Linked DNA regions of Homo sapiens: region 2 is linked to region 1. Evidence: promoter capture Hi-C in 16 types of primary human blood cells and fetal thymus (Javierre and others, 2016). All regions are on one chromosome and are shown on one strand. Each heading gives the region's core, a stretch centred on a gene start or on the middle of the fragment in contact. The rest is flanking DNA. Distances are from core to core; before and after follow the strand shown.

The links. The method cuts DNA at HindIII sites, captures the fragments that hold promoters and counts their contacts. A CHiCAGO score of 5 or more calls a contact.
Region 2: a contact is called between a fragment that was not itself captured here and the fragment with the promoter of OR8B4 in region 1, in 3 of 17 cell types (M1 macrophages, M2 macrophages and endothelial precursors). The highest score is 6.7, in M1 macrophages.

The regions. Positions count from the first base shown.
Region 1 is chr11:124,422,065-124,429,652 of GRCh38, forward strand. OR8B4 (olfactory receptor family 8 subfamily B member 4) reads right to left here and starts at 2,807. Exons shown (of 1, transcript NM_001005196.1): 1 at 1,878-2,807. The coding sequence starts at 2,807. The coding sequence ends at 1,878. The HindIII fragment of the contact is 2,701 bases long and covers 1,269-3,969 here.
Region 2 is chr11:124,561,807-124,569,394 of GRCh38, forward strand. No RefSeq gene overlaps it. Among named protein-coding and RNA genes, the nearest start is that of OR8A1, 4.4 kb to the right of the region's middle. The HindIII fragment of the contact is 4,648 bases long and covers 1,530-6,177 here.

The sequences.
Region 1 (7,588 bases), core at 1,557-4,056:
CCTTAACGTCAACCCAAAACAATATGCAAGATGACCCATCCTTGGTTTGAGACAGAAGTGCAGGCCTTCTGAATTTATTTAATGTTGCATTTTCTGTGGAAGCAGTAGATGCTCTTATTTGGCTTTACAAGAGCCAAGAAAAGTCTCTCTGAGTTTTTGTCATGTAAGATCCTCAGTCAAAAAGGAACTTCTTTCCAAAAGAGCCAAGCCAGTGTCTCATTAAGTCAAACATACTTTCACGGCTACTCACCCCAGTGCCAATATGGAGTGAATGCAGGGAAAGTTATTCTTGGACTTTGATGCATTGATTACATAATTGTTCCTTTCCATTCATATCCTATGCCCTGACTTAGTTCTTGTTCCCGCTCATTTATACCAATGGTAATTGTTTTTTTTTCTTTATCCGTATCAAAGTAGATTTACTTTTGTCCTTCCTTATTCTTGATTCTTTTCTAATATCCCAAGACCCCCATGGACCTAGACACAGACAGTCCACTGGAGGGTGGGATTCAGCAAGGCCCAGAGGACTGACCAGCAGTGGTTGAGTAAGGTATTAAATCAATTCCAATGAATGAATTAATATATTTAAGGTACCTCAAATGGTGCACAAACACATGGTGCAAGTTCAGTAACTGTTAAGTGTCATTATTATCATAATCAAAGCATAATCCAAGTATCAGAGTTTTTCTCCTCCAAAGATCTTCCTCTAGCAGATTTGGAGAAGATAGATAGAGTTTGTCTCACGTCTCCTGTTGGTCAGACCTGTGCTGCAGTTGCTTCTCTGCCCTGCTCTCAGCTCTCCCTCAGAATGTCTCCTGGCCACGAGCTGGAGCACTGAACTCTTCAATGTAGAACAGCAGAACCTTTAGCAGAGTAATACAGAGTGGTCTTTGGCACTCAAAATCCAGATCCCTTCCAGACTCCCTGAGAGTGGGACGTGTAATATGACTCCTCTTTCTTTCCGATTCTATATTGATTAACTGTAATACACATACAGACACACACACACACACACACACACACATATAAACATGCACACACGTTGTCAGAACTGTAAAATCTAAATCCACTTTAAAGAATAAGCAATCTTCCTAAAATCCAGTAGTGTGCTTAGTATCTCCAGAGCAAGGCAGAGGCCACATTTTACAGATCATGCAAATCCGTGGAGTTCTTCCTTGTTTCTTCTTCCAGCCTGAGTCTCCGGAGCCTAAGAAATTGGCCCAATTACACAGGATCACTTACCCCTGATTACCATTCCAAGGCCCAGAAGCTTTAGAACTTTGAAATAAAAGATTTGGATTTGATTTATCCTTACAGAGCAGATCATAGAAAATTCTTGTGTGAGGGCTTCTTTTATGTACATACATGTATATGAAAAGGAGGGTTTATGATCTTCCTGACCAAGCAACCTCCTGAAGAGCTGGATATATAATCATATTAGCACTGGCACCAAGGTATCTACCATTGATCTTTAATAAGTCTGCTTATGTAACTAAAGAGAAAACACTCCTCAACCTTTATACCACCACCTGCCCCTTGTTCCAGCCAGAAACGTTCTTGCTCAGAAAAACCCATTTAGCCTACCAAGAAAAGAATGGAAGGCATGGAGCCTCATCTTACTCATCTCTTGGGCCTAATACAGAGTTCAGTAAACAAAAGGCATTTCATAGACACTAACTTGCAGGCAGTGAGCCAATTTAATTGTTGCAAAATAATATAGTCCTCAAGGAGAGTATAGGAAAGAGATTTCCAATTTTTAAAAGTGGAGAGGAGACCCTCTTTGAGGAAAAATATTAAAATTCCTCCGCCTATAAATAGAAAGACACTTGAGTATCATGCTTACCGAGAATCGGTTGCCAGTGATATGAAGAGACCCATTAGAAGAGCACTCTCTTCAGGGTTTTGCCCAGGGCAAGTTTATCATCCTTATTCCTCAAACTGTAGATCGAAGGGTTAAGCATGGGAACCACATTGGTGTAAAAGACTGAGGCAAATCTGCCATGGTTCATAGAGCCAGGAAAAGATGTTGTTAAGTAGGTGAATGTCCCTGACCCAAAAAACAGAGCAACAGCAATTATGTGGGAGCCCCATGTGCTAAAGGCTTTGGATCTGCCCTCTGCAGAAGGAATACAGAGGATGTTGGAGAGTATCAAAGCGTAAGAGATGACGATGCTTATGCTGGATAGCATGGTGATTACTCCAACAACAATGAAAAATACCAGCTCACTGACATGGGTGCTGGTGCAGGAGAGCTGCAAGAGGGGGAGAACGTCACACAGATAATGGTCAATGACGTTGGAATCACAGAAGGTCAGTCGCAGCATGCTTCCAGTGTGGGCCATGGCCCCAGCAAACCCTACCACATAGGAACCAAACATCAGCAGAAAGCAGACCCTTGGGGACATGGTGACCATGTAGAGCAGGGGGTTGCAGATGGCCACATAGCGATCATAGGCCATTGATACCAACACATAGCACTCAGAATTGACAAAGAAACAGAAGAAAAATAGCTGAGTCATACATCCCACATAAGAGATGATACTTTCTGAAACAAAGTCATTCAGCATTTTGGGGGTAAACACACAGGAATAACAGAGATCTATAAAGGACAAGTTGAAGAGGAAAAAGTACATGGGGGTGTGAAGGCTAGGATTTATCCCAATTAAGGTGATCAAGCCCAAGTTGCCCACCACAGTGAACACATAGATCCCTAAGAATAGAAGGAAAAGAGGGAGCTGGAGCTCTGGCTGTTCTGATAATCCCACAAGGATAAACTCAGTCACTGAGGAGCTGTTTCTCAGAGTCATTCTCTCTTGGCGAGCTGTCTGGGGAAGCAGAGGGCAAAACACAAAGAGTCATGACAGGCACAAGCATGGCTAAGGGAAGAAGACTCTAGTGGACCAGCCAGTGTGCAGATGCCCTCTCTTCCATCCTCCCTCATCTACACACCTCCCCACCCTGAGGTATTAACAACGTGTCTGTGAGAGGATCTCAGCTCTGCTGGGCCGATCATGAATTCAAGCTAGCATCTGTTACCATGGGCAGCAAGAATTCCGTCTCTGCTTGAGAGATGACGAGGGAGACAACACACCTGAATTGGCTGCCCAGGGACTCTCAGAAAGACACCCTGAGAACCAAGAGTACAACCTGGGCCGCTGCCTCAAGAGCTGAGAGACCAGAGCTCTCAAGGTCACCAGGATGCCCTCCCATTCTCTGCCTCCGTCTCCCAACTAGATAGTGGATTTCCATCTGGAGAGAAAGCCAAGAGTGTTACCTGCTGGCTCTTTACATCCCACCCGCCTCCTCGAAGACCCTCCATTCCATCTCACCTCAGGGTCAGTGTTGAGAGCAGAGACGGGATCCATACTTCCCAGAGCCCTTGGTTGTGGGTTTCAAAGAGACCATCAGGAAAGACAGGATTCGGACCTTCACCTTCCTTCTCCCGGGCCCCACTCAGTGCTGGGCCTTACGCCATCTCTTTTTCCATTAGCCAGAAAGAGAAAATGGTGCTGCTTGTGCAGAAAGCACACAGCCTTGCGTATTACCTCTTTTGACTCCCTTGGTGCTGAGAATCAGAGCTTTTACAGACCCCAGGCTCCAAGGTGCTCAAGGAATAGACCATGGTTTCTGTTTGTGGATTTTCCCAGGTGGTCTTGACAACTTCAGGAAAAAAAACTAGGAACTCTCATTTTGACCAGAACCCCAGCTGTCATATCACAGAGGAATTTAAGCTGCTTGACGATCTCAGGGACCTGATTAGACACAGTTTCCCCTGGGAATTTCTCCAAGATCTGTCTCTATAGGGAAGGAATTGCACTGTCTTTGTTTACAGCCTGGATAACGGTGCTTACCTAGCATCTTGGGAGTGGGGGTTCCACTCAAACTTTCCCTCTACTCCAGGGATTTCATGTTATTCAGTGCTGAGTTTGGGGACTCATTTTTTCCTTTCTCATTAACTCTCAGAGCCTAAGCTTGAATTTAAGAGTGAATAGCCCCAACCTAAGCCACCATCTCCAAATCTTCACAGGGAGCTATGAGAGTAGGACCCCTCAGAAAAGGTCAGATCAGATCTACAGAGAGCACCTCAGATAAAAGGCTTCTTGGACCATGCGCTGCTCAGAACAGAAACCACACCACCTCCACCACAAACACCACCTACTCGCAGCTCTAATAAGGGCCGCAGACAGGCCTTTACTATATATGAAGAGATTAAAATATCACAACACATATGCTAGAAAGCACACACACACACACACACACACACACACACACACACACACACCCCTACACAGAGTTACTCTCTAGGCATGCAGGCTTAAGGTATAATGGGAGATGGATGTAAGGGTCTAATCCTGCCATTATTCAGATGACAAAGCTGCTCTCCATATGATCTGCTAGATGAATATTTTAAGAAAAATTCAAAGACATGGGAGCATCTGCATTTGTAAGTTTCACTAAGGCTACCTAAAATAATCCCAGTTCGCCTGGGACAGTCCTGACTTACACTCATTATCTCTGTATAATTATTAATAGCATACCCTTTCACTCTCAGAAGTGTCTGGACTTGGACAACAAATTGTGTATACTAACTAAAAGTAAGTAGGCATATTTACCTAAAGACATGCCAAGATTGTGCACTGCAGCGTTGTCCTTAACAGCCACAAACTGAAATCACCCCATCTGTCAGCCAACTGTAGACCGGATAATAAATGGTAGGATGTTAATAAAATAGAATTCCATATAGCCATGAAAGATAATGACATAGATAAATGTCACAAACCAACAGAGAGTGAAAGGAGCCAAGCACAGAAGAGGGTATATTTTATGATTTCATTTACATACAGTTTAGAAACAAGGAAGCTAATCTATGGTGCTAGAAGTCACACAGCAGTTCCTCTTGGCTGGGCAGGCAGGGGCTAGTGACTGGAGAAGGATGTGAAGGGTGCTTTAGGGTTGCTGGCAATGTCTGGTTCTGACAGGGGTGCTGGTGACACAGATGTATGCAGTTAGCAAAAATTCATCGAGCTCTATCCTTATGTTACACTTAAATAAAAAGTTTATTTAAAACGTAAGTGGAGAACAAAAAATAAATCATCCTACCAAATTAGTTTAAGACAAAAATTACTCAACAGCTTTGAGCTATAATTCCCCCATTTGTAAAATGGATATTTACTGCCCTGACAACTCAATATAGTAGAACGTGCAAGAAAAATAACACCGTTTATGTTTCTTTTCCATCTTATGTCTCTTAAAATAAAAAACCATTTTTTAATATAAAGGGAAGAAATCAAGAGAAAAGAGAATTAATGCATATGGAGCAACTACAGAGTGCCTGGCCTTATGCTGGATGTTTTCTGATGTAATATGTTGTTTATAACAACTATACAATGTGTATGTGTGTGGCAGATTGTATTTCCCAAGTATGACTATACTGGTGCACACACACATACACAGTCACGCATGTATACCTTACATCCCACATGCTCTTGATATAATAGGACTGAAACTCCTCCAATCAAAAGATGAGGCCTATATGCCCTAATTTTGCCTCTAGGCAGGGACTTGGGATTTTTCCAATCACTAGAGTATGGTGGAAGTGACGCTATGTGACTTTCAAGATTGGGTCATAAAAGGGTAGAGCTTCCACCAGGCATGCATTCTCTCTCTCTATATATATATATATTCTCCCTCTCTCTATCTCTCCCCTCTCCCCAAACCTCTTTTGACATCCCTTAACCTTCAGGAAAGTCATGTTAAAACCCTCTGGCCTTGTCACAAGATAAAATCACATAATTACATGCCATAGGAACTTAACTCTTGTTTATGTCACTTACCCTATAGGAAAATTGCTCTCATTATACAGTACATTATTTCACTTGAAGTTGTGGTTTCCAAGCACCTACCAAAAATTTTGAGTGCAGATTTACCGTACACTATAAGGTAGCAAGTGTGTGGTCATTTGTCCAGTGTTGAGGGGCAGGAGCCCCTTAGGACCTACATGCCAGTGAGTGGACACTTGGAAAAACACTCAAGGGAAATAGCCAGGGGACTCACCAGAACAGGTCTGGATCACTTGGCCCAATTCTCCCACACTACCAAGGAAGTCTCCTTCCAGTTCCATATTTGAATAATGTTTATGAGGTTTACTTTTATGAAGAAAACAAGCATTGCTATTTAGTACACATAATTCCTTACCCATTGCATTTTCCCATCCTGAATGGCAGTTTATTAGGTATGCAGCAATGATCTAACAATGGAAGAGAGAATCTTCTGTTCATTAGAGTAGACGTCAATTTATTAATCATCCAACAAATATTTATTAAAGCTAGTTATTTCCAGTAATATTGCAAAAGCTATTGTATTAGTCAGGGTTCTCTAGAGGGACAGAACTAATGTGATACATAGAGAGAGGCGTTTATTAAGTATTAATTCACATGATCACAAGGTCCCACAATAGGCTGTCTGCAGGCAGAGGAGCAAGGAGAGCCAGTCCAAGTCCCAAAACTGAGGACCCTGGAGTCCATTGTTCGAAGGAAGGAAGCATCCAGCATGGGAGAAAGGTGTAGGCTGGGAGGCTAGGCCAGTCTCTCTTCTACATTTTTCTGCCTGCTTATATTCTAGTCTCGACGGCAGCTGATTAGATTGTGCCCACCCAGATTAAGGGTGGGTCTGCCTTTCCCAGCCCACTGACTCAAACATTAATCTCCTTTGGCAACACCCTCACAGACACACCCAGGATCAATACTTTGTATCCTTCAATCTAATCAAGTTGACAGTATTCAGCATCACAGTTATATTCAGAAAGAGTTCTTGGGATAAAAACAAAAACCAAGAATTCTGGACAAAATATTAAAAGCATCTATTTGTTCATATTTGAGCTGCCAAAAACTAAGTAAAAATCTGCGAGAGCAAAAGAGAAGAAGTAAGAAAGTAAGACTTCAGAGGGATGCACAAACCCCAGAGCTAGAGTTTGCCTTTGGGGAACTAGCGGATTCCTGGGGGGTCAGAGCTGGGGTTTAATGAGTTAGCTATGCAGGAGATAAAAAGATAAAGCCTGGAACTTTAAGCAGGTTGGAAGTTTGGAACCATGACTGACATAATTCTGACTCCCCAGGAAAAAAAAAAATTCTCCATGGCTAACTTGGAGAAAAAATGCCCACAGTAGGAGCAGGCCTAGAAATGTGACCGACTTGGCCTTGGCTCTAGAATGGCAGAAAAACAGACAAAATAGCCTCTGACAATTTCTAATCACCTCTGTGTTTCAAGTAAAAAATTCATATTACAAATATGACAATAACAAAAAGTTCTTTCTGGAGAATAAAACTTAAATCCAGATATGAAATTATTTCCCCAGATAAATATCCAAGGATCATGAGCTCATGATGAAAATTTTAAACAAACACAAAATAATCCACCATCAATAAGACTCACCAGGAATGATAAAACACAATTTATGTACCTAGCCAAACCTGCAAAATTACTAGCTTGTCAGGGACAGAAAACAAAATAGATGCATACAATATGTTTTTAAAAATTAAAAATTAAAAAGCAAACTGAAAGTATAATGAAGGAACCATCAAAACTGAAA
Region 2 (7,588 bases), core at 2,604-5,103, 140 kb after region 1:
ATTTCATCCATGTCCCTACAAAGGACATGAACTCATCATTTTGTATGGCTGTATAGCATTCCATGGTGTATATGTGCCACATTTTCTTAATCCAGTCTATCATTGTTGGACATTTGGGTTGGTTGCAAGTCTTTGCTATTCTGAATAGTGCCGCAATAAACATACGTGTGCGTGTGTCTTTATAGCAGCATGATTTATAGTCCTTTGGGTATATACCCAGTAATGGGATGGCTGGGTCAAATGGTATTTCTAGTTCTAGATCCCTGAGGAATGGCCACACTGACTTCCACAATGGTTGAACTAGTTTACAGTCCACCAACTGTGTAAAAGTGTTCCTATTTCTCCACGTCCTCTCCAGCACCTGTTGTTTCCTGACTTTTTAATGATTGCCATTCTAACTGGTGTGAGATGGTATCTCATTGTGCTTTTGATTTGCATTTCTTTGATGGCCAGTGATGGTGAGCATTGGTGACTCCAGCCATGGGTTCAGCTGGAGTAAACAGTTTACCTATACACACCCCATAGGTAATATATGAGAGTACCTTTTTCCCCACACCTTAACTTACAGTGGATATTATCATTCAAAAAACTTCTCAATCCAATTTGATTCTGAAAATGACATATTTTGATCATATTTCTTTGATTACTAGTGGTGCTGAATATTGGACATGTTTTGTTGACCATATCTATTTTTTTCATTTTAAATCTACTTTATAGATTTAAGTACAGTAAATTATTAAATACCATGCAAAATGCGCCTATTGTATGTGAACATGTCCATTACCACACAAAGCTCCCTAACGCACCTCTGCATTCAATCCCTCCACTGTCCCTGAGCCCCAGGCAACCACTGACTTGCTATTTATCATTATTGATTTATTTTGCCTGATGTAAAATTTTATACAGGTGAAATCCTACAGTATGTACTCCTTTGTGTCTGGCATCTTTTGCCCAGTCTAATCGTTTTGAGATTCATCCATATTGTTGAGTATAGCAGTAGTACATTCCTTTGTATTGATGAGTAGTAATCTGATGTATGATTATTTTCACAAACTTGTTTATCCATTTACTTGTTCATAGACAGTTAAACTGTTTCCGGTTCAGGCTTTTATGAATAAAGCATATATAAGCATTCATGTACAAAACATTTTGTAAGTGTGTATTTTCATTTCTCTTGGATAAATACCTAATGTTAGAATTGTTGGGTCATAGGCAAGTTTAACTTTATAAAAACTGCCAAACCATTTGTTTCAGTCTGTTTTGTGTTGCTGTAACAGAATACCTGAAGCTGGGTAATTTATAGAGGAAAGAGGTTTATTTGGCTCATGATTCCAGAGTCTGAAAGTCCAAGAGCATGGTGCTGCAGTCTGCTTGGTTTCTGGTGAGGGCTCATTCTTGTGAGCAAGAACTCACTACCATAAGAACAGCACCAAGCTGCCCATAAAGGTGAGACCTCATGACCCAAATGCTTCCCAGCAAGCCCCACCTCTTAAGAGTTTCACTTCTCTACATTGGTGCACTGGGAATTAAGCTTCCATCATGAGTTTTGTCCGGGACACTCAAATCATAGCACCACTTTATAGAGAAGTTATTCAATTGTACATTCCCAACAGCAATGTAGGAAAGGTCCAGTTGCTCTACATCCTCAACAAAACTTGATATTGTCAGATTTTTAAATTTTTAACATTTCTAGTGGGTATATAGTGTTATGCCAGTGTGTTTTTAATTTGCATTTACCTGATGTTTAATGATACTGAGCATCTTTTCATGTATTTCTTGACCATTTGCGTATCTTCTTTTATGAGGTAACTATCTAAATTTTGGAGTCAATTTTAATTGGGTTGTTTGTCTTTAGATGATTTGTAAGAGACTTGTTTTATCTCCTAAAATAAATCTTTTGATATATGCATTGAATATTTTTTCCCAATCTGTGTCTCACCTTTTCATTTCCTTAATGGTGTATGATCTGAAGTGGTGCAGAAGTTTGGATACCATGAACTCTCAAAACGAACCAACCAAAACTCCCTACAAGAATAAACTGGAAGGAATAAAACCCAAACTAAGCAGAATAGAAACATTAGAGACAAAAGAAAGAAACAATCCAGATAAAAGCAGAAAAGGGGCAGAACCAAGAGATCTCAGGTGGTAAGGCATCATATTTTCAGCACTTCACAGAAAAAACAAAGAAGAGGTTCCACATGTGTGAAATTAGGAAAAAACTAATTTGATATTAAAATGAATAGAAAAGAATCAAGGTAAATCCCATATAAAGTTATTATTATTATTATTATAAGAAAGAAGAATGATTTTCTACAGAAAATATAGAGCAAGCTACAAAGACATGCTGACAAACAAATAATAAAACTCAGCATTAGTAAAAAATTATAAATTAAGCAATAAGACTCAGGAAATTGTTAGAAATAAAAAAGTTTCAGAAATTGAGACTGAACTAGGAGTAACCAAAATAAAATAAACACAACAGATAGTGCCTTAGGAGAAATCAAAGGTGAAAACAAGGGAGAAAAAATGAAATGAAGAGGATTTGGGGGAAAGTAACAAATGTAGACACTAGGTAAAGATCTAGCTGGCAACTGGCATAGAGTAGGAGCCTCAACAGAGAAATCTAAACCAATAGAACAAGTAATAAAAACTGTAATTCAAGAAACTTTCTGGCATTAAAACAATAGATTTAAAGTAACATGTTAAAAGAAACATCACACCTAAGAAAATTGTCTCAGAATGAACATTAAAATATATCCTAGTAAGATTATTGGACTTCAAAAAAAAAAAAAACACACTTTGATAACTATGTAGTCCTACAGTTCCTAGTTCTGCTTGAAAAGACCTAAAAGCAATGGCTAAGCCAAGAGCAATGAGCCTCTCTAGCACCTAATTTGTGTTCTTGAAATATCATTTCCCTGCTAAAAGAAATCAAATTTCTAGGAGAAATGGTTGATTTCCAGGTCTGAGGAATTAAATGTATGAAATGTGCCGAGACCAGCTCGGTCCGAGAGACCCTAACCCAGCAGCGCTACAGGAATTAAAGACATGCACACAGAAATATAGAGGTGTGAAGTGGGAAATCAGGGGTCTCACAGCCTTCAGAGCTGAGAGCCCCGAACAGAGATTTACCCACGTATTTATTAACAACAAACCAGTCATTAGCATTGTTTCTATAGATATTAAATTAATTAAAAGTATCCCTTAAGGGAAACGAAGGGATGGGCCGAATTAATTGCAGCAGGAACACGTCCTTAAGACACAGATCGCTCAGACTTTTGTTTGTGGCTTAAGAATGCCTTTAAGCGGTTTTCCGCCCCGGGCGGGCCAGGTGTTCCTTGCCCTCATTCCCGCAAACCCACAACCTTCCAGCTTGGGCGTTATGGCCATTGTGGACATGTTACATTGCTGCAGAGATTTTATTCATGGCCAGTTTTGGGGGCAGTTTATGACCAGACTTTGAGGGACTTGCTCCCAGCAGAAATGAGTTCATAACATCTTGTCATATAAGATAGCAAGGAAGGCATAATACTAGAAACTACTAACACCATGTCAAAGACACCGGAGACAAACTGAAGAGAATTCTACAGGCCAAAGATAGAAAAATGTGATCAACAAAAATAACTGCAATAAGTTAACTTCGTTATCCGTTACACTTATTTTACACATAAAATGTGTTTACAGTGGTGAGTTTATAATAAAGAAAAATAACTGGTCACCTTTGGAGTATAACAGGATATCAAGTTATTGTTTTGAAACTTAGAAAACGCAGGTGATGTGTTTTTACATTATCTGTGGTATCAGATACACAAGACTATGTGTTTGATAAAATTTCGTAGAACTAAATACATGCACAGATGAGTGTAAGTAAAACTGGGGAAGTCTGAATAAAATCCGTGAATTGTATCAATGTCAATAATCCTGGGTATGATATTGTACAATCATTTTGCAAGATGTTACCACTGAAGGAAAATGGCATAAAATAGACAGCAAAGAATCTTTCTTCATTATTTCCTGCAATAACATATGAAACTACAATTATCTCAAAATAAAAAGTTTAATTTAAAAATCTTCATTGCAATATATTCATGGATAACAAAATACTGAATATGTTCTTGAATAGGAAATTTCCTTATGAACACACTTCTCTTATGAATGAGCCTGTATGAATGAAGAGTTCTTTTAGTCCACCTTCACATGCTCCTGAACCTCCTGTCATTCTATACTGTCAGTTTACTTGGTGCAGCAGCAGGGTGCCAAATTCAGCATTCCCTTATAAATGTAAGGAACGTAACATTCCTTTACTAAAAGTATACAGCTTGTTTTTTAAAAAATTGAATTTGTTTTTAAAACACATTATAATAAACATTTTAAAGCTAGTCAATTGTGCATAATCATGAATAATAAGTAACAACCATAGTGGTAGTAACTGATGATGGTGTTGATGGCAATGAGTGAGGTGGTTGTGGTGATGATGGACATAATGATCATAATCATGACGATTGTGACAATAGTAATGGGACTGTTGATAGTAAAATATTCCAAAGCTGGCATTAGACTGTAAGTTTCCCTAGCTGCAAGATCACTCTACCAATAACAGGAAAATTAACACACCTGGGAGACAAAGCATGTTTCTCAGAGCCAGTGTAAAGCAAGGCTCTAATTGCTCTGTTAGTGAGAACCCCAGCCTCTCAAGTGATTATAGCCCAGGAAATATTGTGCCCACATATTCGTAAACACAATCCCAAGCCCCCAGTCTTAGTGATCCATTTTTTAATGAATTTGAGTAAATGTAGGACTCAGTATAAATCAGTATGGTTCCTGCATTTTCTGATTGTTGAAACCAAGGCAGCCCTTAAAGTTTCCAGCAGACTGTGCTTTATTTTTCCTCATCACAGGTATTTAATTACAAACTTAAAGCAATTGCCTGAGAAAAATATTTCTTCCATGAACTCTTGTTTGTGATGCAGACTATTTACAACCATATATTTACTTTCACCACTATGTGCTTTTTTAATCTGTGTGCTGTGTTCTCATTGGCAGTTATCCTAAGGCTCTTATGGCTTAGTGAAACTAAAGGTAATAATTGTAGTAACTAATATAAAATATATGGTTTGGCCAGGCACAGTGGCTCACACCTGTAGTCTTAGAGCTTTAGAGGACCAAGAGAGGAGAATTGCTTGAGGCCAGGAGTTGGAGACCAGCCTGGGCAACACAGAGAGATCCCATCTGTAGCCAAAATTTTAAAAAGTAGCCCAGCATGGTAGCATACACCTGTAGTCCCAGCTACTCATGAGGCTGAGGTGAGATGCTTGCTTGAGCTTGGGAGTTCAAGGTTACAGTGAGCCATGATCGTACCACTGCATTCAAACCTAAGCAACAGAATGAGACTCTGTCTTTAAAAAAGAGGAAAAACAGGAAAGTAAAAGAAATACGTGGTTTATATTTGCCTCTTTCATGTTATTAGAAGACTATGAGAGTGAAACGTTAAATCAGTGCTGTCTAGCGTTCTCCTACACAATGGTGTTCCCACCTGCTGTGCACTCAGTGAACAGTGTTCATTCCACACTGCTTTGTAAAGCACACGATCTACAGTTATAGTTATTCAAGTTGGGTGTTTCCTTTCATTTTAAGAGGCAGACATTGGGTAAAAAAGGATATGTAAAACTTTTTAAATCTACTGTTGTTATTTAGAAAAAAATTCTTCTTTGTGATAAATGAAAATAATACATTTCTATTTCCATTGTAATAAATGGGAATAACTCCTTATGCACAATGCTTGGGACTAGAAATGTCTTGAATTTCGAATTTTTTTCCGGTTTTAGAATGTTTGTATATACATAATGAGATATCTTGAGGATGAGATCCAAGTCTAAACATGAAATTTATATATGCTTCATATACATCTTATACACATAGGCTGAAGGTAATTTTATACCATATTTTTAATAATTTTGTGCATGAAACAGTTTTGACTGTATTTTCACTGAGACTAGTCACATGAGAGGAGGTGTGGAATTTTCCACTTGTGGTTCATGTTGGCCCTCAACAAGTTTCAGATTTTGGACTTTGAGTTTTCAGATTGGGAATGCTTAACGTGAATTTTAAAAATCTTAGCTACCTCTCATACTAGTTATTGTAAAGTTAAATGCCTCATTACCAATAATTTGATATAAAAGCTTACAATGCAATTCAGACTTTGTCTTCACACCACGTCCTAATGATTTTAAAGACTCTTACTTCTAAGAAAAAAGAATACAGTTAGTGCCAGTTATAGGAATCAAATGAGACAATACATTTGTGAATGCTATGTTTAAAAAGCAGATTACAAATGTTTTTGTAAAAATACATATATATTTATATACATGTAAATACATATATGCATAGGAAAAGTCTAGAAGGATATTCACTACCACCGTTTGGTTCCAAGTGGTGGAAAATGGTTGTTTTAAATTTTTGCTTATTTGCATTTCTAATTCACTACAATGCCTATATATTGCCTTTATAATTTTTTTAAATGCATCCAAAATTAGCAATAGATCTTTCCTCTATCTTCAAAAATTATATAAATTAAATGTTATTAAATAATAATAAAGTGCTACACAAAGATACGCTAAAACAAAACAATTTAGTTTAGTGGAGACAAAACACACTGGTGGTCAGAAGTCCTGGGTTTTAGGCCCAGTTTTGCCTCTTACTAGCTGGGTTTCCTTGGGTGACTTATTTAACTTTTAGAGCTTCAATTTCCTAGACAACGAAACAAAATACAGCATTTTTCCTATGCTATGCATATACTAAGATATCAAGCTTAAACCTATTTTAATCATACATTGCTAAGAGCTGTGAGTGTGCAGATTTACAAGGCTGCACATGTGAGGCAAAAGAGGAAACTCATGATCAGGACAGAGCCGAGGTAAGTTTGAGTTCCAAGTCACCAATAATTAGTAAACCTTGGGCAAATCACTTAGTGTCTGGCACCTCAGTTTTCTCAATACAAACATGAAAATAAAAATCCTTCCCTAAACACATTTCTCCCCATTTCCGAAAACTTCAGAAGTTAATGAGATCGACCTTTGAAAGAAATGTGTAAGCTGTAAAGCATTATGCAAAAGTTAGTAATTACATAAGGAAGCAATTAAAATAGGGGTAATATGTTTTATAGCTTAAGAAATACATCCCACAGATAAGACTGTCTATACATATTGTATCCAGCAATGATTATTCATGCTTCCTGGAGATATGCCTGTAATTTGAATACTTTGTCATCAGGGATGTAATAGGACAAAGGTTTGATATTATGATCTGAAAATAATAATAATAATAATTAGCTATTTAGCACTTAGTATGGAACATTCAATGGGCCAGTGCTCATGTTGCACCACAGATCAATTAAATCAGAACATCTACGGGTAGAACCCAGGTATCAATCCTTTGTAAATGCCCCGTGTGATTATAATGTATAGCCAATGCTGAGAACCACTGCCTTAGGACCTCAGGTCAAGTAAGAAATTAAGAACAAATTCCAGACTCTTAATGACAATTCACATTTTTTATAGGCACTGAGTATTTGAAAAAAGATTTCTAAATA